2 separate regions of the Homo sapiens genome follow, and region 1 is linked to region 2. Evidence: promoter capture Hi-C in human tissues and cell types (Jung and others, 2019). All regions are on one chromosome and are shown on one strand. The core of a region is centred on a gene start or on the middle of the fragment in contact, and the rest is flanking DNA. Distances in the headings are between cores, read along the strand shown. Region 1 holds the start of CENPU (centromere protein U). Region 2 holds the start of HELT (helt bHLH transcription factor).

Region 1 (5,158 bases), core at 2,303-4,802, 280 kb before region 2:
AATACAGTACATAATTAGACTTTAAAATATGCCATGCAGATTGCAGCCATATTTTTCTCATTTGTAGACAGCAAAATCAGCTTAGTCTAAACCAATGTTTTAGTATCCTTTTATCTGATATAATTTCAAGCTCACAGAAAAGTTGCAAACATAGCACAAGGACCTTCTGTATGCCCTTTACTCATGTGCTCTGTGTGTGTGTGTGTGTGTGTGTGTGTCTGGAGATACTGTGCACTTCCACCCCTAAATACTACAATATGTCTTTCCTAAGAGGGCATTATACTGCATATTCATGGTACAATTTCTAAAATCAAGAAATTTAACACTGATACCATAATCTAATCTACAGTCCATACCCAAATCACATCAATTGTCCTATAATGTCTTTTAAGATTGCCAGGCCAGCATTTTTAAAAAAACAAACAATAAAAAAGGAAAATATAAAATGAAGCATTGCACTGGATATACTATGTTCACAAGCCTTTTGTTTTATGTGTGGATGTGTGCACACGTGTACTAAGTGTGATGTAAAACATCATTACTGTGAATCACAGTTAAAAAAAAAAAGTTAGAAAACTGTTCAGAGCGGTGGTTCCCAGACTTGAGTGTCATCAAAATTCTCAAGAGGGCTTGTTGAACAGGTTGCTTGGCACCACCCCAGGAGTGTCTGATTCAGTCCCTCTGGGGTGAGGTCTGGGATTCTGCATTTCTAACAAGTTCACGATTTATTTATTTAATTCATGAAACCTAAGGAAGCAGGTAAGACAAGTATTGGTTTTATGGCAATTTTATAGATGATGATTCCGGGATTCAGAAAATTTAAGTGACTTATCAAGGGTCACATAGCCAGGTAACAGAAACCCAGCTACACACTAGACCACATAAACTTCTTAACCTAAACTCTTTGAGCTGTCTTGTCCTTTCTTGGGGGGGAAAAAAAGTCAAGGTTCCTCCTTGCCTTACGCTGGAGTCAAGGTGGGGCTTCTGAGAGACAGAAACCTCTGTGACAACCCACAGGTAAAATTTCTGGGCCAGGCGCGGTGGCTCATGCCTGTAATCTCAGCGCTTTGGGAACCCCAGGAGGGCGGATCACGAGGTGAGGAAATCAAGACCATCCTGGCCAACATGGTGAAACCCCGTCTTTACTAAAAATACAAAAATTAGCTGGACGTGGGGGCGAGCGCCTGTAATCCCAGCTCCTCTGGAGTCTGAGGCAGGAAAATCGCTTGAACCTGGGAGGCGGAGATTGCGCCACTGCACTCCAGCCTGGGCCACAGAGTGAGACTCCGTCTCAAAAAAAAAAAAAAAAAAAAATTCTGTTGTATGTGCGTAAGTGTGTTTTGGGAGGAGGCATGAACAGATTTCATGAGTCTCAAACCCAAAAATGTTAAAAGATAAAAATAAAAAAAGACAACAAAAACCACTAGCCTTTCAGATAAACTCTTTTCAGCTGACATTGAAGGCTGACATTCTCTTCTAATCCTTTTTTGCACTGGGGGAGTCTTCATTCTCCTCCACTGGCCACAGAAGTCTGGTCTCGGTTTCCCCACCCACCTGCGGTGTCCTGCTCCAGCTTTTCCACCCTAACCCCGCATCTACCAGCACCTCCTCCTCCAGGCAGCCTTCCCAGGCCCGGGGGAACTCCTGTTCTCTTCAGATCGTCTTGGCGTATGGCTTTGTGCACCGTCTGCAGCAAGCCGAGACCCTTCCCGCCAGATCCAGGCCGGGCCTTGGATGGCCATTCGCCAACGAATCAGCGACCAGCATTCTAGAGCGCGTTTTGCAACCGACCAAACGCTCGCTTTCTTTGGTAAACAAAAACCGCTCGAGCCATCCTGGAGAACCGCAAGCGGCAGCTCGGTCCCCCAGCCGGATTTATGCTCCAGTTTACGGTCTGTGGTTTGCAGTAAGAAAACACCAGGGTCTTCAAAATAAGAAAACTGATTCCCAGTCAGAGAATAAAACTCCACTAACAAAGTCTGGCAAACCGCAGGCAATACGTATTTGCTGAATATTTTGCTTTCAAGCTAGCACTTTGAGACTCACTACTTTGGACGGCACTCCCCCTCCCCACAAAACGACACGACACTGGCTGACGTCTCTCCCACCCGCCAGGCAGTGTTAGGCCCCGACAGGCCCGTGCAGGTGGGATCACTGTTATCCCCACTAGACTGAGGAGGAAGCCGGGGACCCGGGCGATTGGCCACTCGGGCGACCTCCACAGTGGAGCACCAACAGCGCCGGGAGGCGCAAACCACGGCAGGCGAGGAAGCAGTTCAAGCTGGTCTCCGGCCCCGCGCTCCCGAGGGTCGGCAGTACTTACCCCTCAGACCTGTGAGGCCGCGGCCGCCGCCGCCCCCGCGGGGCCATGGTGCCGCTCTCCGCTCTCGAGCGACTGGAAGCTCCCGCCAAGCCCCTCGCCGCTCCGAACAGCCAATCCGGGCCGAGCACGCGCGCGTGCGCAGGACTTCCTGAGCGGCCCCCGGGCTCCTCCCTGGCCTGGAGCGTGAGGGAAAACTGGGTCTGGTTATTACAGCGCAACGGAGCTGGAGTCCATGCCGCACAACCAGTTACCTACGGTCCAAAACATGCCAAAGTTTTCCGGGCTTTCGCGCCCACCCGCATCGCCAGTTTTCCGGCGCCAGAAAGCCCGGGAGCCACGTGGGACGGCCCCTTGTGGGGTGGGGAAAGGGGAGGAGCTAGTGTCCCTGAGTCGTGGGCAGGTAAGAGGGTGGGTGGAGACCCGTGTTCGCAGCTGTTGTCGCTGAGGCCGCAGTCGTCTTTCCAGGCCTACAGGATTTGGCTTCCAGCCCCTGCTGCCTTTATCAGCTGTCTGAGCTTAGCATGTTACTTTACCGCTATCCCAATACCTTCATTTGTAAATGGACAGGGTTCCTTTTGTTCTTTTATTTTGTTTGTGTTTAAAAATGTGTAATGCAGAAGAATGTAATTGAACCCTTACCTTACACCGCGTATAAAAATTAACGCAAAATGAATCAAAGACCTAACTATAAAGGCTAAAATTAAAACTCTTAGAAGAAAACAGAGCAAAAACTTCATAACATTGGACTTGGTATGATTTCTTGGATATGATACCAAAAGCAGTTTGGGATGATGAAAACGTTCTGGAAATAGTGGTGGATGGATGCACAAGGTGAAGGTACTTAATGCCACAATACTGTAAAGTTAAAAACGGTTAAAATGCTAAATTTTGTTATGTATATTTTACTACGACAAAAATATTACGTTTCATGCATATGAAAGAATATAACGTGTAATGTAAAGATAAAAACAAACATCCGTGTAACCAGCACTACATGGGGATATGGATCATTTTTATATATAACTCTTGGGTACCCCTCTGAATGGTATCCTCCTCCTCCAAAGAATAACCACTCTTCTGATTTTATGTGTATCATTCCTGTGGTTTTCTACCTTGATATAGCCCCAAATAATGTATTGATTATTGTATGTTTCTAAACTTTATATGATATTTGGTAGGTATGCTGCAAGTGCCCTTTCTTACTAAAGCTATTGCTTTTATTTTTTATTTATTTTATTTTTCCATAAATTATTGGGGTGCAGGTGCTATTTGGTTACATGAGTAAGTTCTTTTTTTTTTTTTTTTTTTTTTTTTGAGTTGGAGTTTTGCTCTGTCGACCAGGCTGGAGTGCAGTGGCCTGATTTTGGCTCACTGCAAGCTCTGCCTCCCGGGTTCATGCCATTCTCCTGCCTCAACCTCCGAAGTAGCTGGGACTACAGGGGCCCGCCACCACGCCCGGCTAATTTTTTTGTATTTTTAGTAGAGACGGGGTTTCACCGTGTTAGTCAGGAAGGTCTCGATCTCCTGACCTCGTGATCTGCCCACCTCAGCCTCCCAAAGTGCTGGGATGACAGGCGTGAGCCACGGCGCCCGGCCTATTTATATTTTTTATTTTAATTTCTTTTTTTTTTTTCAAGATGGAGTCTTGCTCTGTCACCCAGGCTGGAGTGCAATGGCACAATCTTGGTGGGGGGGACTATCTTTTCTGGAATTTTAGGATCCCTCCTCAGACAAGCAGGCCTAACAAAAGCTATTCCTGAAGGTATGCTATGAGGAGCCTCAGAAATTGTATCCTTCCTATTCATGTAAGTGAAGATAAAAGGTGTCACTCTTCCAGCCTTGGACATCCCTTCCCTCCCTCAGGGTATGGCCCTCCACTTCATTTTTGGGGCATAACATCTTTATAGGACAGGGATAAAGTCCCAATACTAACAGGAGAATGCTTAGGACCCTTAACAGTTTTTCGAGAATGTGTTGGTAAGGGCCACTAAATCCGACCTTCCTTGGTCCTCCATGTGGTCTGGGAGGAAAACTAGTGTTTCTGCTGCTGCGTCGGTGAGTGCAACTATTCCGATCAGCAGGGTCCAGGGACCATTGTGGGTTCTTGGGCAGGGGGACAAGCAAAACAAACCAAAACCGCGGGTGGTTTTGTCTTTCAGATGGGAAACACTCAGGCATCAACAGGCTCACCCTTGAAATGCATCCTAAGCCGTTGGCACCAATTTGACCCATAAACCCTGTAAAAGAGGTGGTCTGCCCTGCAGCTTGGCACCAATATTCTCTCTCTGATGGGGAAAAATGGCCACCTGAGGGAAGTACAAATTATAATAGTATCCTGCAGCTTGACCTTTTCTGTAAGAGGGAAGGCAAATGGAGTGAAATACCTTATGTCCGAGCTTTCTTTTCATTGAGGGAAAATACACAACTATGCAAAGCTTACAATTTACATCCCACAAGAGGACCTCTCAGCTTACTCCCATATCCTAGCCTCCCTATAGCTCCCCTTCCTATTAATGATAATCCTCTCTAATCTCCCCTATCCAGAAGGAAATAAGCAAAGAAATCTCCAAAGGACCACAAAAACCCCCAGGTTATCGGCTATGTCCCCTTCAAGCTGTAGGGGGAGGGGAATTTGGCCCAACCCGGGTACATGTCCCCTTCTCCTTCTCTGACTTAAAGCAGATCAAGGCAGACCTGGGGAAGTTTTCAGATGATCCTGATAGGTACACAGATGTCCTACAGGGTCTAGGGCAAACCTTCGACCTCGCTTGGAGAGATGTCATGCTACTGTTAGATCAAACCCTGGCCTTTAATGAAAAGAATGCGGCTTTAGCT
Region 2 (4,712 bases), core at 431-2,930:
GTCTAACGACCCCAAGGGGGGCGCTGGGCCCTGCCATCTCCCTGCAGAACAGAGAGAATTTAGGCAGGGTTAGGGGCAGGCAGAAAAGAAGAAAAATCTGAGAAGCGGTCTCAGCTGTTCCCAGATGGAAAAGATTAGAGAGGTGAGAGTTCGGTGGCTCTAGAAAGGGCCATAAAACAAAAATCATTTTTATCGTTTCAATCTGCAAGAAAGCTCACCCCCCACCCACACCCCACAAGCTCAGAGCCCCCAGAGTATAGGATCCGAGGCAGCAAGTGTGAGCGAGGCCCGTCCTGGGGGAGGTGGCCTCTGGCCGCGGGGCCAGGTTGCCCTCAGAGGCGCAGGCGGCCAAGAGAGTTCCCAGCCGCCGCCGCCCCCCTCCTTCCCCTTGGGCCCGTCCAGCAAATTTCCTCCCTCGTTTCTGTTCGTGCCTTCCCTCCCTCCTCCTCCCCCCGATATTTTCGCTTTCTAAAACCATAAAAAAGAGATCAACTTCCCAAACTTCACAGGGCCCTTTTCAGTGACAAATATTGATGCCCAAAGTGTCTGCGCTCTCCCGCCCCCAAACGTTAAGAAAAGACGCCAGCGAAAGGGAGACATAAAAAGTTAACAATGCTGTGAAAATATGTTTGCAGAAAATAGACAATCGTTGGATTAAACGTATTCAAGTATGAAATAATGCCTTTTTGTGTCAAAACTTGGGCGATGGGCGGGTACAAAAGTTCCCTGTGGCAGCTACTTGCTCCCTTTGTGAGCCGTGCGCTTTGGCGTCTCCACTTGGGCGCATTACTCAGAGCCCTCTAAGCGCGATTGTTTCTCCCTTTCTAATGACATTTACCGGATCAAAACATGCTGTTAATTCGATCAGAAGGCTTCACCCTCCCTGACAAAGCCACAATAATTTCTCCTGAAGTTTGTTAAATTGACCAAAATTAGGCAAATGAATAGGGGTCTGTAGGCGCCCCCTCTCGCAGGTGACGTTGCATAATGCTTGCCTGGGCCAGCTGCATTCCCCCTTTTCTTCTCGGCCCACTCTTCTCCGTGTTGCCCCCCAATCCTCCCACCCGCCCCTTCACACACAAACACACACACACGCCCGCCAGTCTCTCCTCCCCCACCCTCTGGCATTATTAAAATTTAGCCCAATGAAACTATTCATACTTTTCAATGGACATTTTCGTATAGGATAATAGGCTACAAATTGAGCCTCTTCCCCCCGCGAAGAGGGAGCAGGAGGGGTGGGGAGAAAAGAAAGCCAGCGACGTGGTCAGGGAGTAGGGGGGAGCGTCGCGTGCCAAACAGCGGCGGGAGGGGCGAGGCGAGGCGAGGCGGGAGCCTCGTGTGCCAGCCGCAGCCCCACACCTGCCGGGATGTCCGGACAAATAAAGCGGTGTAAACAAAAAGGGGGGAGAAGGACGTGTCACCAAGTCGTGTGAGAAAAGCCTGGGAACAAACGGGGCGCCTCCGTCTCCAAGAGCTCTCCCTTGAACCCGGCGGAACAGCCTATTAAAGGCTTACTTAATTACTTTAATGACTCTGGACAGGCTTTAAAACGCACTCGGCGCTGGGACGGCGGGCTTGCTGGGATTTGTAAACAGGCGATCATGTGAGACTCAGCGGTGGGACTAAAAGAGGCGACACTGTTTTGTGAGGGTCCTCGCCCCCCGGTGCCCGCGGCCGCTGCGCCCCTGCGCTCCGCGCCCGCGACTGCTGCAGGCGCTTGCTCGCCCGCCGGCCCCAGTTTACCGCCTCCTTTTCCCGCCCGAGCTGTTGCCATGCAAATGTTATTCCTGGGCCGATCACGTGTCCTTTGAAGGGCCACGTGGATTAACAAAGCTGATCTGCCCCCAGCTCGCCCCCCTCGGCTGCTAATTTTTTTTTTTTCTTAACTTCTTTAAAACTGATCTTGAATGCATACATCCTCCAAACGCAGCTCCCCTAATCCTATGGAATAATTCAACTCGTGAATGCATCTGGAGCCCTAGATGACCGCTTTATAAGGCAGCCCTCGGAGTTGGGAGGCTGCAGTCTACCTGGGACACTCGAGGAGGCACACGAGGCGGAAAAGTGGACGGGTGCCCCGCGCCACCGCCTCTCCCGAGGGCGCGTACTGACCAGGATGTCAGACAAGCTCAAGGAACGCAAAGTGAGTCGGCTGAGCCCAAATGGCACTTGCGCCCTGGTGGTGGAGGCATCTGACTCACCGACCCGCCACTTGGGTGGACCGATGGCAGGGAAGTGCCCGCACGGGACTTTGAGTGTGGAGGAATCTCGAGTGGTTTGGGAAGGGGGTGGGGTAGAGAGAGGAGGGTGCTCAACCAGGTAGAAGTCCTGCCTGGAGGCTGGCGGCCACCTCCCCAAAGGCCTGGGTAGGGTGGCTGGAAGGGGAGCGCGCCAGCGCGGGCGTCAGAAGGCAGAGCTCACCTGGCCCGAGCGTGGCGGGCCAGGAGTCCCTTCCTAGAGCGAATCTGAGCAGTGTGCGCGGCTGGAGAGGCGGCTTGCACCCAGCTGCTAGAGCCGCGCCTTTGACGACTTCCCGGGCAAAGCCATCCTAAACATACAACCCTCTCTTCGCAGAGAACCCCCGTTTCTCATAAAGTGATAGAAAAGCGGAGGAGGGACAGGATCAACCGCTGCTTGAACGAGCTGGGCAAGACAGTGCCCATGGCCTTGGCGAAGCAGGTAACGTTGGCGACCCGGAGCCGGGTGCCAGGCGTTGGGAGGCCTCTGCGGCCACTCTGCGGAGACGCCCGAGCCCGCGGACACAGAGGACCTCACTTGCGGGCCCCTCCCAGGCGGGGGGCCTGAGCGCAGGGCGAACCTCAGGAGGCTCTGGCGCAGATCCGCAGCCGCGTCCGCTCGCTGGTCCTCTCCAGCGCCACAGTGCCCGACCAGCAGGCGCTGGGCCGCTGCGAGGGGCCCTTCCTCCTTTTGCAGAGTTCCGGGAAGCTGGAGAAGGCGGAGATCCTCGAGATGACCGTTCAGTACCTGAGAGCACTGCACTCCGCTGATTTTCCCCGGGGAAGGGAAAAAGGTGGGCACAGGTTAGGGAATGGGACGCCTGGGCCAGGCGCCTGCGCCACCCAGAGACCCTGGGGCTGGGAGGGGAGTGACTGAGTGTTCCCGAGAGCTCTACTAGAGCTCCACTCTCCAGGAGGGCAGGGGTCCTGCGAAGGCGCCTCTCCCTGCTCGGCGACAGCAAGGCGGCGAGGGAGAACTGGTTCCCAGGGAGGCTGGTTCCACCTCCTTCTCCCGGGTGGGGTGGGTGGGGTCAGGCTCTCAGGGAAAGAGGGCGTTTGCGCGTGCCTCGCCAGTCTCTAAGACTGCGCAGAGGAGAGGGCGGGCCTCAAATGGGAACTTTGGCCAGAAAATGTGGTGGGAGGTGCCCTGCACCCGCTTTGGGCTCGCGTGGGGAAGGGGCACTCAGGGTGTGTCCGTCCTACGGGCTTTCTCGTTCCTCCAGCAGAACTTCTAGCGGAGTTTGCCAACTACTTCCACTATGGCTACCACGAGTGCATGAAGAACCTGGTGCATTACCTCACCACGGTGGAGCGGATGGAGACCAAGGACACGAAGTACGCGCGCATCCTCGCCTTCTTGCAGTCCAAGGCCCGCCTGGGCGCGGAGCCCGCCTTTCCGCCGCTGGGTTCGCTCCCGGAGCCGGATTTCTCCTATCAGCTGCACCCTGCGGGGCCCGAATTCGCTGGTCACAGCCCGGGCGAGGCCGCTGTGTTCCCGCAGGGCTCTGGTGCCGGGCCTTTCCCCTGGCCGCCTGGCGCGGCCCGCAGCCCCGCGCTGCCCTACCTGCCCAGCGCGCCAGTGCCGCTCGCTAGCCCAGCGCAGCAGCACAGCCCCTTCCTGACACCGGTGCAGGGCCTGGACCGGCATTACCTCAACCTGATCGGCCACGCGCACCCCAACGCCCTTAACCTGCACACGCCCCAGCACCCCCCGGTGCTCTGACGCCCACTCGCCCGCCAGATTTCTCCTCGCTTTGGGCGCTTTTAGGAGAAATGCTGTATATATTGTACACATAATGTGTAAATATTGTACCCCAAAAATCTGGGCTGGGGGAGGCAAAGAGCGAATGAGTCTTCTGAAGGATCTCCCCCTGGTAATAAACGTTTTCTGATAAAGACCCAAAGAGAGGGATTTATGTATTACCTTCTGCTCATCCACACCCGTCCCCTCCGCGGTGCCCAGGGCGCAAGGCTGACAGGGTTCAAGGTAACAGCCCTCAGTAACTTGGTGAGGGGCCCGCTGTGGAGTCTGAGGGAGGGGGACGTTAAATGGAGGTTCAGGCAGATATTCTAGGCATCGCTTAAGGGCGGGATTCGCGGCTTCCTGCACCCGCCCCATCTTGAGCATTAGCCTCAGAGAAACAGGGGAGGCGAAGAACACTGCCCTTGGCTCTCAGGAAAATGCAAATTGAAGGACCTGCCCCAAACTGACTTAGGCGGACCGTTGCCAGCTGCGACCCGGGCGCCCGTCCTACCCGGAGCCAAGTGCCCGACGCGCGCGCACCGCACGCCCGCGGGTCTGGAATGCGGCGAAACCCGGGCCAGCGGGGCGCGTGGCTGAGTTTACAGAATTAAAAATCCTCTAAAAAATACCGGAACCAAGTACAGTTCTGAGTTGCGGATTAGAAACAACATCGTTGATGACAACTGCTCAGCGCCAGAGGCTTCCGAGAAGCTGGCGTTGCCTTTTGC

Evidence for each region. The method cuts DNA at HindIII sites, captures the fragments that hold promoters and counts their contacts. A contact is called where the count stands out against the background at its distance.
Region 1: a fragment that was not itself captured here is called in contact with the fragment with the promoter of HELT in region 2 in 1 of the 25 tissues and cell types used here (neural progenitor cells).

What each region holds. Positions count from the first base shown.
Region 1 is chr4:184,731,693-184,736,850 of GRCh38, forward strand. CENPU (centromere protein U) reads right to left here and starts at 2,404. Exons shown (of 13, transcript NM_024629.4): 1 at 2,324-2,404. The coding sequence starts at 2,370. RefSeq lists enhancers at 1,844-2,710, 1,861-1,980, 4,218-4,737 and a silencer at 2,351-2,410. The HindIII fragment of the contact is 8,312 bases long and covers 1-5,158 here.
Region 2 is chr4:185,016,810-185,021,521 of GRCh38, forward strand. HELT (helt bHLH transcription factor) reads left to right here and starts at 1,681. Exons shown (of 4, transcript NM_001300781.2): 1 at 1,681-2,146; 2 at 2,578-2,682; 3 at 2,938-3,034; 4 at 3,464-4,144. The coding sequence starts at 2,120. The coding sequence ends at 3,963. RefSeq lists enhancers at 931-1,511, 1,512-2,090, 2,091-2,670, 3,385-4,312, 4,313-4,712. The HindIII fragment of the contact is 22,587 bases long and covers 1-4,712 here.